Linked DNA regions of Homo sapiens: region 1 is linked to region 2. The links are contacts of gene promoters, found by promoter capture Hi-C in human tissues and cell types (Jung and others, 2019). All regions are on one chromosome and are shown on one strand. The core of a region is centred on a gene start or on the middle of the fragment in contact, and the rest is flanking DNA. Distances in the headings are between cores, read along the strand shown. Region 1 overlaps OTUD7B (OTU deubiquitinase 7B). Region 2 holds the start of MRPS21 (mitochondrial ribosomal protein S21).

Evidence for each region. The method cuts DNA at HindIII sites, captures the fragments that hold promoters and counts their contacts. A contact is called where the count stands out against the background at its distance.
Region 1: a fragment that was not itself captured here is called in contact with the fragment with the promoter of MRPS21 in region 2 in 2 of the 25 tissues and cell types used here (aorta and dorsolateral prefrontal cortex).

Annotation. Positions count from the first base shown.
Region 1 is chr1:150,002,245-150,009,424 of GRCh38, reverse strand. All of the region lies in intron 1 of OTUD7B (OTU deubiquitinase 7B), which reads left to right. Among named protein-coding and RNA genes, the nearest start is that of OTUD7B, 4.9 kb to the left of the region's middle. The HindIII fragment of the contact is 6,747 bases long and covers 193-6,939 here.
Region 2 is chr1:150,290,922-150,297,642 of GRCh38, reverse strand. It overlaps MRPS21 (mitochondrial ribosomal protein S21), which reads right to left and starts at 3,782. Exons shown (of 3, transcript NM_031901.6): 1 at 3,745-3,782; 2 at 3,194-3,308. The coding sequence starts at 3,276. It overlaps LOC105371434 (a long non-coding RNA gene), which reads left to right and starts at 3,823. Exons shown (of 2, transcript XR_922129.4): 1 at 3,823-4,011; 2 at 4,146-4,343. RefSeq lists enhancers at 44-601, 3,435-3,494. The HindIII fragment of the contact is 19,456 bases long and covers 1-6,721 here.

The DNA of each region.
Region 1 (7,180 bases), core at 2,317-4,816, 290 kb after region 2:
GTATATTTAGGAGATTTTTGAGGAGGCTGGATCCCTTTGTCTTTCAGAATCTATTTCAAAGGTGGAAAAGGACAGAGTAGAGAAAGAGGTGGCGGTAAGACTGGCTCCAAAGAGTTGCTAACCCCTAAATATTTAAAAAAGTTTCTATGCTATGTAACTTCTGAAAACATGTAGAAAATTTTCTTCCTACTAAATGAGATTGCATTCCTGATGGGGAGAAGACTTCAGGGACGGAAGCTGGGTGGCTAGGGAGAATCAGAGGTAGTTAAATATTTGCTGTGTATAACTTACAAATACATTATGCGCAAACAATGAAGAATTAATTATACGCTTTGTCTTCATTGTTTTTCAAGTAGTTCTTTTAACGTTCAGTAACCAACCTGCTGTGCTAGTCTATTGATATTTTGAAGGCTGAACAAAACTGTAAAATAAATGAACTTGATGTTGCTCCTCTGCAGGCTGAATACCCCCGACCGTTCTAATTTCCACTATTGACCCAGCTTGCCTCAGAGCACCTCCCTGACAAAGTGGCCAGTTACTATGTACTTAGAGATTGCAAATCAATGCAAATATTAGCTCATACTAGGAATAATTAAGAAGGTAAATATGCTGAAAACATATATTCCAAAACCAAAATAGATTTTTTCGATTTTACCCTCATTTTTGATTATCACCACCTTTCTGCCAATAATTATCCGTTAACATGAATAATTTAGAATTGAACAGATATCTGCTTTGGACATTACACTTTCAAGATAGAAGGAAAGATGGAAGGAAGATAGTGCCAAACTAATTTTTTATTGTCATTGCCTTATTTGACTTATTCCTTGCTTTTAATACTGAAGACTCCCTCGGAAAAAAATGTAAAACTTTGCCAAAGCAAGAGCTGGCTATCTACTGACTTGTATAAGGCCCGGTGACTGGTAATGAATGCTAATCATTAGGTGGCCTTTAGTGGCCTTATGTTGCCAACAACTTGGAAAATTTCCCAAAGCTTTATTTGTTTAATCTTTCTTTTGAGACCCCTATTTAAAAAACGACTTAATTTGGAGACGAAAATCTAATTTTTAAAAACCACATACACCTTTCCCAGAATCTGTTGATGATCAATAATTGTTTTGATCTGTGTGAGTTGATTGGTGCCAATATTAGTGATGATATCTGGGTAAATTCTATTTATATCTGCATCTAGCAACTCCCTAAGTTGAACTGCATACTTTATTCCAGGGCATGGGGATCAAAGGGGTTGAAGAAGCCTAGGAATGAGTGGAGAGCTGCCTGGTAGTCCACCACTATTCCTAGTTCTCAGGAGGCTTTATTTGCAATTTTGAGATTCAATGTATGTAACCAAAATAAGTATTCTGATTGTTATGAGGGCACTAAGTGCCACTTGTCAAAGTTTTGGAGCTCCTGAGTATCTTAAGCATGCTAAAAGACACTGGCCATTATAGTGTGGGTGTATGTGTGTATGAGTAGCACTCTCCTTACCCTAAACACTCATCCCACCAAAGGGAAAATCCTTAAACAGCGCTTTGAAATGTGACCTCAGCAGTATCTTTCCTATGGGAACTTAGGAGCTGTGGAATAGCAGACTGTGGAATCTTTTTTGTAGCCTCTGATAAATTCAGGTAATTAAAAATTTGTGTAACTGGAAGATAGATACAGGGCAGTTTTTCTCATGAATGCCTGAATTCAGTTGACTTTTTAATATAATAGAAGAGAGTTGTTTGTTTGTTTTTAAATAAGACATCCTTGCTGAGTAATGATTGAACACTTCTCTGGATAAAGCAGTCTCCATGCTCCAGTGACAGGCTTTAGGGAGGTATAAAAGATGTAAAGACATGTGTCTTTGCTCTTGGGGTTGAGGGTGGATGGGAAAGGTGGTGTATAAATATGGGAAGGCAGACTATTATGAGCTTTAACATTTAGGAAACAACATATAGACAAAAGCAAATTTAACGTGCTGATAAGTATGTAAGGGCTGAGAAGACTTAAAGTAACAAAGTAAGAATCAGTGAAATAAATTGGGGAGATTTCTGAGTCAGTAAATTTTGAAATGGACTTGGGAGGCTATGGATGAGTCATAAAGAGGTATGGGCTATTGAGTTAGATGGGTCTTCGTTCAGACCTTGCGGCTATTTTTTACCATGTGACCTTGGACAAGTTAACTTCTTTTCCTTATCTGTAAAATGTGAGCATTCAAGTAAATGAAATAGTTACTGTGTTGGGAATAAAAGAAAAGAAAGGATCTTCCAAACAGAAAGTATAGAATGTACAGTGTGCAATGATGATATGAATGACTAAGTTGTGAGTGGGGGGAATATATGAGAGTGACTGTAGAGAATGTGGGTTGGGCAAGTCATGAGTAGAGCAGGCAAGAGGGTGGAGGGGACTCAGAAGCCAGACTCTGTTGGGTGTTGATAGAAGGGTCAATAGAATCATTGTAGGTCCTTGAACAAAGGACGGATTTAATGAGAAATATTGAGCCCTTTGGTTCAGGAACTCAGGGACAAGGAATCAGGCAGGCATCCGTACATTGTGACTCTTATTTTCTGTACCATCCTAACCTGAAGGGATACAGCCAGGAGGCATAAGATTCCTTGTAGAAGTTTTTGTGTTTACACACCTTACTATGCTGAGCCTGCTTGTTCCTGTCTCGTAGTGCACCAACCTGTGGGGAAGTCTCAAGACTATGGCCGGATTCTCCTCAAGAGCTTATAGTAAGGACAGCATTATGTTTCAAGTGCATTTAACTCTCAGTTGTCTCTGCTAATGTAGGGAGCACTGTTGTAGGTAATTCAGAACTTAACAAAGACATTTCCTGGTTATTTTCAACTGTGTTTTTTTTAGGATTATACCTTATCCCTTTATTTCCTCTAAGAAATAGTTTTAGATAAGAAAAATTACTAAACTGTTATTTGTAGTGACCCACTATGAGTTTAATTCTTTGCTAGGTGCTATGGAGGTTTAGGAAAAATGACAACTTTGCTCCCAGACTGAAGTACAGTGGCGCAATCTCAGCTTACTGCAAGCTCTGCCTCCCAGGTTCATGCCATTGTCCTGCCTCAGCCTCCCGAGTAGCTGGGACTACAGGCGCCCACCACCACGCCCGGTTAATTTTTTGTATTTTTAGTAGAGACGGGGTTTCACCGTGTTAGCCAGGATGGTCTTGATCTCCTGACCTCGTGATCCGCCTGACTCGGCCTCCCAAAGTGCTGGGATTACAGGCGTGAGCCAGTGTGCCGGGCCGAAAATACATTATTTTTTAAACTAGATTTATTTTCATTTTTGGGGATCATACTAATATTGAAATAAATTTGCATTTCTAAGCTTATATTACCTGATGGTGGGGAGAGTACACTGATGATGAAGAACAGTCATTCTTGCATTAAAGATTTGGCCTTAGAAATCCGTAAAATGAATAATCCATTTGTAGATAATTAAGACTAGACTACACTGAATATGTTGATAGACCAATTTCTTTTCAAAATCTGTATGGATCCAATGTGGCCTCCTAGGCTGTCTGTCTTATGTCTGAGAATGACTGGCAGGTGATGCTTGTGTTCCAGCCAGAATGAGCCTTCATTCACAGTATCTGGACGAATGCCACTACATTATGTTGTGTTGTTGAAGATTAAGCCGGCTTTCTCAAAGGACTTGTGCTTTGTAGAGGCTCTTCCAGATATCAGCTTCATTGAAAATCTGTCAGACTTTTCCTCCTGTAGGAAAGTTGTTTGAAAGTATGTCCAATTAAAAAAAAAAGGAATGGGCAGAAGTGTCCACATTTAAGAAGTAAACAAAATCACATGCCATTCTTTCATCCCTTTTTTTTCTTCTCCAGTTGACTTGCTTTTCTCCATCCCTGCCACTCTCCCCCACCTCTTTATAATCATTACCAAACTGATGTCACGAGCACAGGATTATTATTTACTTCTTGAGTCAGGAGATTGTAGTATTTCTGAGCTAGAAATCAGGTGGAAAAGTCAGGAATCTTATTTTATACAACTAGATAGGGATTATTTTCAACTGTGCTTTTTTTAGGATTATACCTTAGCCCTTTATTTCCTCTAAGAAATAGCTGTAGATAAGAAAATTACTAAACTGTTATTTGTAGTGACCCACTATGAGTTTAATTCTTTGCTAGGTGCTATGGAGGATTAGGAAAAATGACAACTTTGTGTCCTTGAAGAGTTTACAGTCCAGTTGGGAGTAAGAAGAATAAAAAGGAATGAATACTTGCTGAGCCTCTTAATATGCCACACAAAATTTTAAAATGTGAAACTATATTGTTAGTTGCATAGTGCAGACCTCATACCGTAGGTATTTGGGGAGAGGAGTACTCAGGTAGTTATGTCACAGAGGAATTATAACTCATTTCAGATCTTAATAAAAAAATAGGCCAGGCACAGTGGCTCACGCCTGTAATCCCAGCTACTCAGGAGGCTGAGGCAGGAGAATCACTTGAACCCAGGAGATGGAGGTTGCAAACAGCCGAGATAGCACCACTGCACTCCAGCCTGGGTGACAGAGCAAGACTCTGTCTCCAAAATAAATAAAAAAATAAATGAATAAGTGTTATTGTATTAGGTACAAGGGATGAAGATGAAGAGGATAACAAAACATTTCATATTGGAGCTGAAAGGGATCAAGCGAAAGCCTGGAAACAGGACTATACCTGAGATGTTCTTGGGGCGGTGAGGAGACTAACCTGAGTGGCAGTGAGCAGTAGTGAAATGAAGGTGGGTAGGTTGGTTTGGAGCTATGTTTATAGAGGGTGTTAAAAAGCTAGGCTTATAAGTTTATATATATATATAAAATTTATTTATTTATTTATTTATGTATTTATTTATTTATTTTTTTGAGACAGGGTCTTGCTCTGTTGTCCAGCTCAGGCTGGAGTGCAGTGACACAATCTTGGCTGACTGCAACCTCCGCCTCCTGGGTTCAAGTGATTCTCGTGCCTCAGCCTCCTGAGTAGCTGGGATTACAGGCGTGCACCAGCATGCCCAGCTAATTTTTGTATTTTTAGTAGAGACAGGATTTCACCATGTTGGCCAGGCTGGTCTCAAACTCCTGACCTCAAGTGATCCGCCCACCTTAGCTTCCCAAAGTGCTGGGATGACAGGCATGAGCCACCGTGCCCGGTCAACTTTATATTTTAAATGGTAGAAGATTTTTGAATAGAATAGCAGTATGATGATACTAATACACAGGTTGGCTGGGAGGGAATGGAGATTGACACTGGGGGTGTGTGAAGTGATGAGGCCCGAGTTAGAGTTGTGGAGGGTAGGCTAAGGAGAGGAAAGAGTGAAAAAGAGACTGTGAAGGAAAAATGGAAATTAATGAGGGGTGGATGTGGGAGATGAAGAAGGGTGATGAGTCAACTACAACTGTGACACGTTGTGCCTGGGTGTCTGAGACATTGAGTGAAATAAAGAAGTTAGGAAGCTTTCCTCATTTTGGGGAAATATGATGAGTATAATTTGCGATGTGTTGGATTTAAAGTGGCAATGAAATGTCCAAATGAAGGCTGTCCTGGGTGTGAGCTGGAGTAAAGATGGGGGTAGGTTTGGAAATGCAGTTTTGCAATTCATGGCCTAGATGTGGTAGCTGTAGCCAAGAGAATTAATAAGCTCTCTGAGGACTAAAGTTTAGGGAAAGAGCAGAAGGGCAAAGAAAATGGTACTGATAAACCTAAACACGTCTAAACCTAAACATGTCTCCTATCTTGTAAACACCATCCTAGGCACTGAGATGGAGGTAAGGGAGACAAGGAACCCACGAGGAGCGTATGGGTCTAGTGGGAGGAGACAGATATGTAAATATATAGATAGAATGAAGTGTGATAGATGCTGTGATAGAAGTATGCAGCAGGGAGAGTGGGAGCCCAAGGGTCAGTTCTGCCTTGGGCATGCTGAGGTTGGAAAGAGCCTCCCTGAGGAGTTAGCATTTGAGCTGAGTCTTGAAAGATGAATTAAGGATATACTCTACAGATGACAAGAATTACATTCCAGTCTGAGAAAATACCATGAACAAAAGCTTAAAGGAATGAAGGCCAGACTTCTTCAGGTAACTTTTACTTAATCATTATGGCTGGAGGATGGGATGGAGGGCAGGCTGAAGAGGTAGGCAACGCTGGATCATACAGAGTTTTTATCTTTTTTTTTTTTTTTTTGAGACAGAGTCTTGCTCTGTCACCCAGGCTGGAGTGCAGTGGCACAATCTCAGCTCACTGCAAGCTCCGCCTCCCGGGTTCACGCCATTCTCCTGCCTCAGCCTCCCGAGTTGCTGGGACTACAGGCGCCCGCCACCATGCCCGGCTAATTTTTTGTATTTTTAGTGGAGGCGGGGTTTCACCATGTTAGCCAGGATGGTCTTGATCTCCTGACCTCGCGATCCGCCCGCCTCGGCCTCCCAAAGTGCTGGGATTACAGGCGAGAGCCACCACGCCCGGCCTGGAGCTTTATCTTATACTGCAGTATATCAGGAGCCATTTAATACGTTTCACATCCTAGAAAGATTATGTCAGTGGTGTGTAGGGTGGATTGGAGATGGAGAAAGCAGAATTCCTTTCAATAACTTCATTATACTGAACACATTTATTGAGAGTGATCATATTTACAGATTCATGGAATCAGACAACTGGCGGGGCTGCGATGCTTTCTTAGTTTTCCTCATTCATTTTCAAATAGAATACCTGAGGTTTACTCAGGATCACAGAAGTGGTTCTGTGATAGCTTAGTCTAGAATTCAGTCTTCAGCATGTACTAGGTGATTAATAAAGGTGAATTCACCTCTCTCTTCTCTCCCAAGTCCCATTTCAGTGTTTGTGTCATTCTGCCACATTGCATTGTACTAGCAGATAGAAGGACTTAACATCATTCCATTCTACCGTCTTTTTTTAACCAGTCCAAAGTGAATAGAGGTATTTTCCTAGGTCTGACTGAGAAAGATGTTCCCTGAGAGTACCATTGGGAAGAGGGGCAGTTCGGTGCCCTGGACTGGGCTGAATGAGGTGTTAGGATTTTTCAGCTGTAGTGATTCAGATGTAGAAGAATGTCAAGGTATTTGTTTTGTTGCATGTCTTTATCTCTGCCACTAAGCTCCCTTTAAGTTGTTTTCTTTTAAACTTAGTTTTATTTGTGCCACTGAAACTTGTTAAATAAGCTATGATAAATTG
Region 2 (6,721 bases), core at 2,533-5,032:
CTGGAATGCAGTGGCACGATTCTGGCTCACTGCAGCCTCTATTTCCCAGGTTCAAGTGATTCTCCTGCCTCAGCCTCCCAAGTAGCTGAGATTACAGGCGCCTGCCACCACATATGGCTAATTTTGTATTTTTAGTAGAGACAGGGTTTCGCTATGTTGGCCAGGCTGGTATTGAACTCCTGACCTCAGGTGATCCACCCGCCTGAACCTCCCAAAGTGCTGGGATTACAGGCATGAGCCACCACGCCTGACCCTAAGACCAGATCCTTTTAAAAGACATAGAAACCATTCTGAGCCTGCAACTGCTTCTCATTTACACAGCTTCTGACAGCATTTTTTCTTTTTTTTTTTGTAGACAGAGTCTCGCTCTGTTGCCCAGGCTGGAGTGTAGTGGCACGCTCTCGGCTCACTGCAACCTCCTCCTCCCGGGTTCAAGCGATTCTCCTGTCTCAGCCTCCTCAGTAGCTGGGACTACAGGTGTGTGCCACCACGCCCGGCTAATCTTTTGTATTTTTAGTAGAGACGGGGTTTCACCGTGTTAGCCAGGATGGTCTCGATGTCCTGACCTCGTGATCCGCCCGCCTTGGCCTCCCAAAGTGCTGGGATTACAGGCGTGAGCCACCGCGCCCGGCTGACAGCATTTTTTTCCTCACTGTGGTCTTCTGCCATCCAGCCTTCCACACCTAGAACTCTCTGCTTTGCTAAGAACTAGGTTCCCTTTCCTTTGCCCTCTCAGTCCTCAAGAACCCTACCAATATTTAAACCCAATCAGATGAGGATTCTGGTTTTTTTTTTAAAGCGACACCTGCTGAAATGACAAGACAAGGATTCTAAATTGGAAAATGAACCACCATAAGTCTTTCCATTTCTAGTAAGACTAGTAATAATTATTAAAGAACATTGCACTAAAAAGATGTGCTTTAGGCTCCTCTCCACCATTCAATAACTGCATAACCCAATAAAGATAATCTGATCTTCCAAGGCTTCCCTTACTTGTGAAATAAAGCTACCACATTAAAGGCCTTAATGCAGCCCATGCAATATCTTTCCTACATTTTTTTTAAGAGACATGGTCTCACTATGCTTCCTAGGTTAGAGTGGAGTGGTTATTCACAGGCACAACAAGAGTGCACTCACACTACAGTCTTGAACTCCTGGGTTCAAGCAATCCTCTTGCCTCAGCCTCTGGAGCAGCTAGCACTACAGGAGCCCCTTCCTTACAATTCTTTGATAATTCAACTCAACAAGCGTTTGTTTCTCCAAATGTTACTTCACATTGGGGAAAGAAAATGACGCGTGAGTCATACCAGAAAGTCAAAATCCACACAACTGGTGAGAAGGGAAGGTTAAGAACTTTTTGCTTGAGAATTCAGTGGTAAAGTACTACTAGGGCTGGGCCGGATGCAGTGGCTCATGCCTGTAATCCCAGCACTTTGGGAGGCCAAGGCGGGTGGATCACGAGGTCAAGAGATTGAGACCATCTTGGCTAACGTGGTGAAACCCTCTCTACTAAAAATACAAAAATCAGCCAGGCGTGGTGGTGGGCACCTGTAGTCCCAGCTACTCAGGAGACTGAGGCAGAAGAGTCAATTGAACCCAGGAGGCGGAGGCTGCAGTGAGCCGAGACTGCACCACTGCGCTCCAGCCTGGCAACAGAGCAAGACTCCGTTTTAAAAAAAAAAAAAAAAAAGTATTACTAGGGCTCTTCTACATCTCTTAGCCTGGCATTCAAAAATTTTCAATGAAGCTATAAAGCTCCTCCACCCCAGCTAGTTTGTTTCCATTTATGTATTTTTCCTTATGCTGTATCTTTCCTGAAAACTTGTAAGCTTTCCCATCTTTCTTTTTTTCCCTTTCTTCTTAATATTTTTAGAAATGGGGTCTTGCTATGTTTACCAGATTGGTCTTGAACTCTTGGCAACAAGCAATCCTCCCCACTAGGCTTCCCAAAGTGCTAGGATTACAGGTGTGAGTCATCCCACCCAGTGAGCTTTCCCATCTTTTGCCTGCTTCTCTAGGATGCCAATCTGAATTCACCTTTTCCTTTAGCTTTGTCCCACACCAATCACTCCCTCAGCTTTCTATTTATCATACTACGTTCCCGCTTCCTAGCAACTTCACATCTTGATTTTCCATTTGGGCTCTTTTTTAAGTCTTCTAAAGAATTCAGGTTCCTCATAAAAGGAGTCATTACGCTTGGGCAACATGGCGAGACTCCCTCTGTACAGAAAATACAAAAATTAACTGCGGTGGTGGCGTGCGTCACTAGACCCAGCTAGTCAGGAGACTGAGGCAGGAGGATTGTTGAGTGACACAGCAAGACCCTGTCTCAATTTTTAAAAAGCGGGGCCGGGCGCTGTGGCTTACGCCTGTAATCCTAGCACTTTGGGAGGCAGAGGCAGGCAGATCACTTGAGGTCAGGAGATCAAGACCATCCTGGCCAACACGGTGAAACCCCATCTCTACTATAAATACAAAAATTAACCGGGCGTGGTGGCGGGAGCCTGTAGTACTGGCTGCTCAGGAGGCTGAGGCAGGAGAATGGCGTGAACCCAGGAAGCGGAGCTTGCAGTGAGCCGAGATCGTGCCGCTGCACTCCAGCCTGGGTGACAGAGCGAGACTCTGCCTCAAAAAAAAAAAAAAAAATTAAAATTAAAATTAAAAGCGGGGAGGTGCGGGGGGTGATTACTTGTTGAATACAATTCATACAGTTAGGTTTGAGGAAGAACTTTTTTTCTTTTTTTTTGAGATAGAGTCTCACTCTTGCCCAGGCTGGAGTGCAAGTGGCTCGATCTTGGCTCACTACAACCTCTGCCTCCCGGGTTCAAGCGATTCTCCTGCCTCAGCTCTCGAGTAGCTGAGATTACAGGCGTTTGCCACCACGCCCGGCTAATTTTTGTATTTTTAGTAGAGACACGGTTTCACCATGTTGGCCAGGCTGGTCTGAAACTCCTGACCGCATGTGATCCACCCGCCTCGGCCTCCCAAAGTGCTGGGATTACAGGCGTGAGCCACCGCGCCCGGCCCAGAACTTCATTTTTAAGATAATAAACTGAGGGGCTGAGACGTTTTAAGAGACTGTGAACACCTGGGCTGGCACTGTTTTGAGAACAATCAACGAAAGGGGAAGGGAGAGAATAACCACCGCACTTCCCAGAGAGTCTAGGCATGATTCTGGTCCCTTAACAGTTACCTGTTTAGGGTCCTGTATGCGCTTTCCACGTTCCCTTCCTGTACCATCACAGTCCTGGCGATGAACTTCAGATGTTTTGCCATGACCTTGGATTTAAACCTTCACTCTGTAGAGCCTAAAGGATGATGGAGAAAGGGCGAGGAAAGCAGAAAGAGAAACGCAACATAATACAAACTACACCGCGCGGCTTATTTAGGATTTGGAAATTCAACATGCTCAGGGACGCGCGAGATGGAGCACATGGAAGTCATCCTAGAAAGTAGACGTGAATCGTTGTCTCTTATTCTCACTGCCAGTCCAAATCCTCGCATAGAGAAGAAAAGAGATGGCAGCAGGGCGTTACCACAAAGACGCGTCGCCGGGCATGAGAAGGACACGAGCGACAAGGATGCGCCACAGGGTCCCAACCACCACACATAGTTCCAAAAGGGGTTGAGTTGGGAGTTGGGGAAGGACTCTTTGTTGGTCTTTGGAAAAGGGGGCGAAAGCCCGCAAACCTGCCCTCTCGCCAAGCCAGCCTTCCTTTCCCCAAACCCTGCACAACTCCTCACCTCGCGCGCTCAGTACCTAGCCCACCGGAAGGGTTCTCACTACCGGAAGCGGAAATTACGGAATCGCCAGCGCCGCGCAAAGAAACAGGCCGAGGGAGACAACGTGCGTGGAAACCATAGCAACGTCCTTTCTGGCCTCTGTTGACTGCCTCTCTTCCCCGGGCCTGGACTCTACACCTGACAAAGCAAAATACTCATTGACTTAAATTCCCCCGAAACACGTTTCTCGCCCTCTCATGGAGTCGAAGTCCTTCGGCCTCTGAGAAGGTCAGCCCAATTTCATACCCCTTAATCCTGTGAAATCCTTGATAAATATTTGAGCCATTTCTCTTTCTCGATGGAAAACAAGAGAAGTAGGCGCTTCCTGAGGATGCTTCCTGTTTTCTCTTTGGAAAGGACAGACTCTTTGAGATCTGCTCTCCGGACGAAAAATAGATTGATTCATACACGTCATCTGCCTAAGTGCTAAGGAAAAGAAATAAACATACTGTGAGTTTCCTATATCATCTTCCCACTAATTTAACTACATAAAGTGAAATCAATAAAGATATATGGGAAACACCTGCAGGGTTTAGAATAAAAAATTATGTCAGCTTCTATGCCTTTTCGTGCTAATGAGACCTACTGAAAAACCTCCTTTTAAATTTCTTCTTCGCTGTGGAGACACCCGTCCTCCTATTTGTATGCTACCTGTACATATCCATTTATGGTTATTCACGTAAGTTAACATCTAATGGCTGTAGGAAAACGTACCTCCCTTAGAGAGAGAGTGCGCGCGCACGCTCACGCACACACACACACACACAGACACAGACACAGACGTGTGCATCATCAGTTGATGCTAATAACTTACACTAACACTTAAGCCCACCTCAGAGTAAGCCAGGTCCAAAGTAACGAAATAGAACTAGATTGGGACATTATTATGCTTGTCAACAAACTTTCACTGAATGACTACTCTGTGTCAGATACTGTTGATACCACTCTAGTGCCTCCTGGACCACTAGGACCACATAAAAGATACTAAAACAAAGTAGTATATAATAAATGCAAAATAAATTATATGGGCTGGACGCGGTGGCTCACACCTGTAATCCCAGCACTTTGGGAGGCCAAGGCAGGCGGATCACTTGAGCCCAGAAGTTCGAGACCAGCCTGGGCAACAAAGCAAAACTCCGTCTTTACAAAAAATATAGAAATTAGCCGGGTGTAGTGGCATGGCCTGTTGTCCTAGCTACTTGGGAGGCTGAGGGGGAGGATCACCTGAGCCTGGAAGGTCAAGGCTGCAGCGAGCTTTGATCACACCACTGCACCCTGGCCTGGGCAATAGAGTGAGACCCTGTCTCAAAAAATTAAAAATGAATAAATAAATAAATAGGGCCAGGCGCGGTGGCGCACGCCTGTAATCCCAGCACTTTGGGAGGCTGAGGCGGGTAGATCACCTGAGGTCAGGAGTTTGAGACCAGCCTGGCCAACATGGTGAAACCCTGTCTCTACTAAAAATACAAAATTAGCCAGGCGTGGTGCCACATGCCTGTAATCCCAGCTGCTTGGGAGGCTGAGGCAGGAGAATCACATGAACCTGGGAGGCGGAGGTGGCAGTGAGCCGAGATCGCACCATTGCACTCCAGCCTGGGCAACAAGAGTGAAACTCCATTTCAAAAAATAAATAAACAAACAAATAATAAATAAAATATGCCACAGCATAATGTGGTGAAAGGCACTGGCTTCAAAGTTGGGAGATCTGGATTCTATCCCAATTCTAATACTCATCAGGCCTATGACCTTGAAGAAGTCATTTAAAACCAGGGGTCTGGAGACTACAGTTTACAGGTCAAATCCTGCTCCACCTGTTTTTGTAAATAAGGCTGTTGACCTACAGTCATGCTTATTTGACTGTGTGTTATGTATGGCTGCTTTGGGCTACGATGGCCGAATTGGGTAGTTGCAATAGAGACATAAAGCCTACAAAGCCTAAAATATTTACTATCTGGCCCTTGCCAGACTCACTCTATTTCCTCATCTCTAAAATGGGACTAATTTTGCCCTGTTCAGTCTCACGAAATTTGTCATGGGAATCAAATAGAATAAAATATGAAGATATGCCGGGCACGGTGGCTCACGCCTGTAATCCCAGCACTTTGGGAGGCTGAGGCGGGTGGATCACGAGGTCAGGAGATCGAGACCATCCTGGCTAACACAGTGAAACCCCGTCTCTACTAAAAATACAAAAGATCAGCTGGGCGTGGCGGCGCTCGCCTGTAGTCTCAGCTACTTGGGAGGCTGAGGCAAGAGAATCACTTGAACCCTGGAGGTGGAGGTTGCAGTGAGCTGAGATGGTGCCACTGCACTCCAGCCTGGGTGACAGAGCGAGACTCTGTCTCCAAAAAAAAAAAAAAAAAAAAGAGAAAAAAAATATGAAGATACTTTGAAAGAAAGGAAGGGAGACAGGAACTGATGTTAATAAGTTCTGTTAACCACTACCATTGGATCAGCTGGAGAGTAACATTTTTGAGAGCCTACTATATACTAAACCCTGTACTAGGTGGGTGTTTTTTATTTTTGTTTTTGTTTTTCTGAAACAGAGTCTCACTCTTGTTGCCCAGGCTAGAATGCAGTGGCACCATCATAGCTCACTGTAGCCTGGACCTCCTGAGCTCAGGTGATCCTTCCACCTCAGCCTCCCGAGTAGCTGGGATTACAGGGACATGCCACTACGCCTAGCTAATTTTTTGTATTTTTAGTAGAGACTAATTTTTTGTATTTTTAATAGTTTCACTATGTTGTCCAGGCTGGTCTCCCAAAGTGCTAGGATTACAAGTGTGAGCCACCCCACCAGGCCCCAAACCCTGCACTAGGTATTTTATGTACATGATTCCATTTAATGGAGTAAACGGCCAAACACTGAGTGTATAGATCATGTTTAACAGAAAGAATGATAGGATGGACTTGAGTTAGTCGTTGAAAGAGGGCAGGG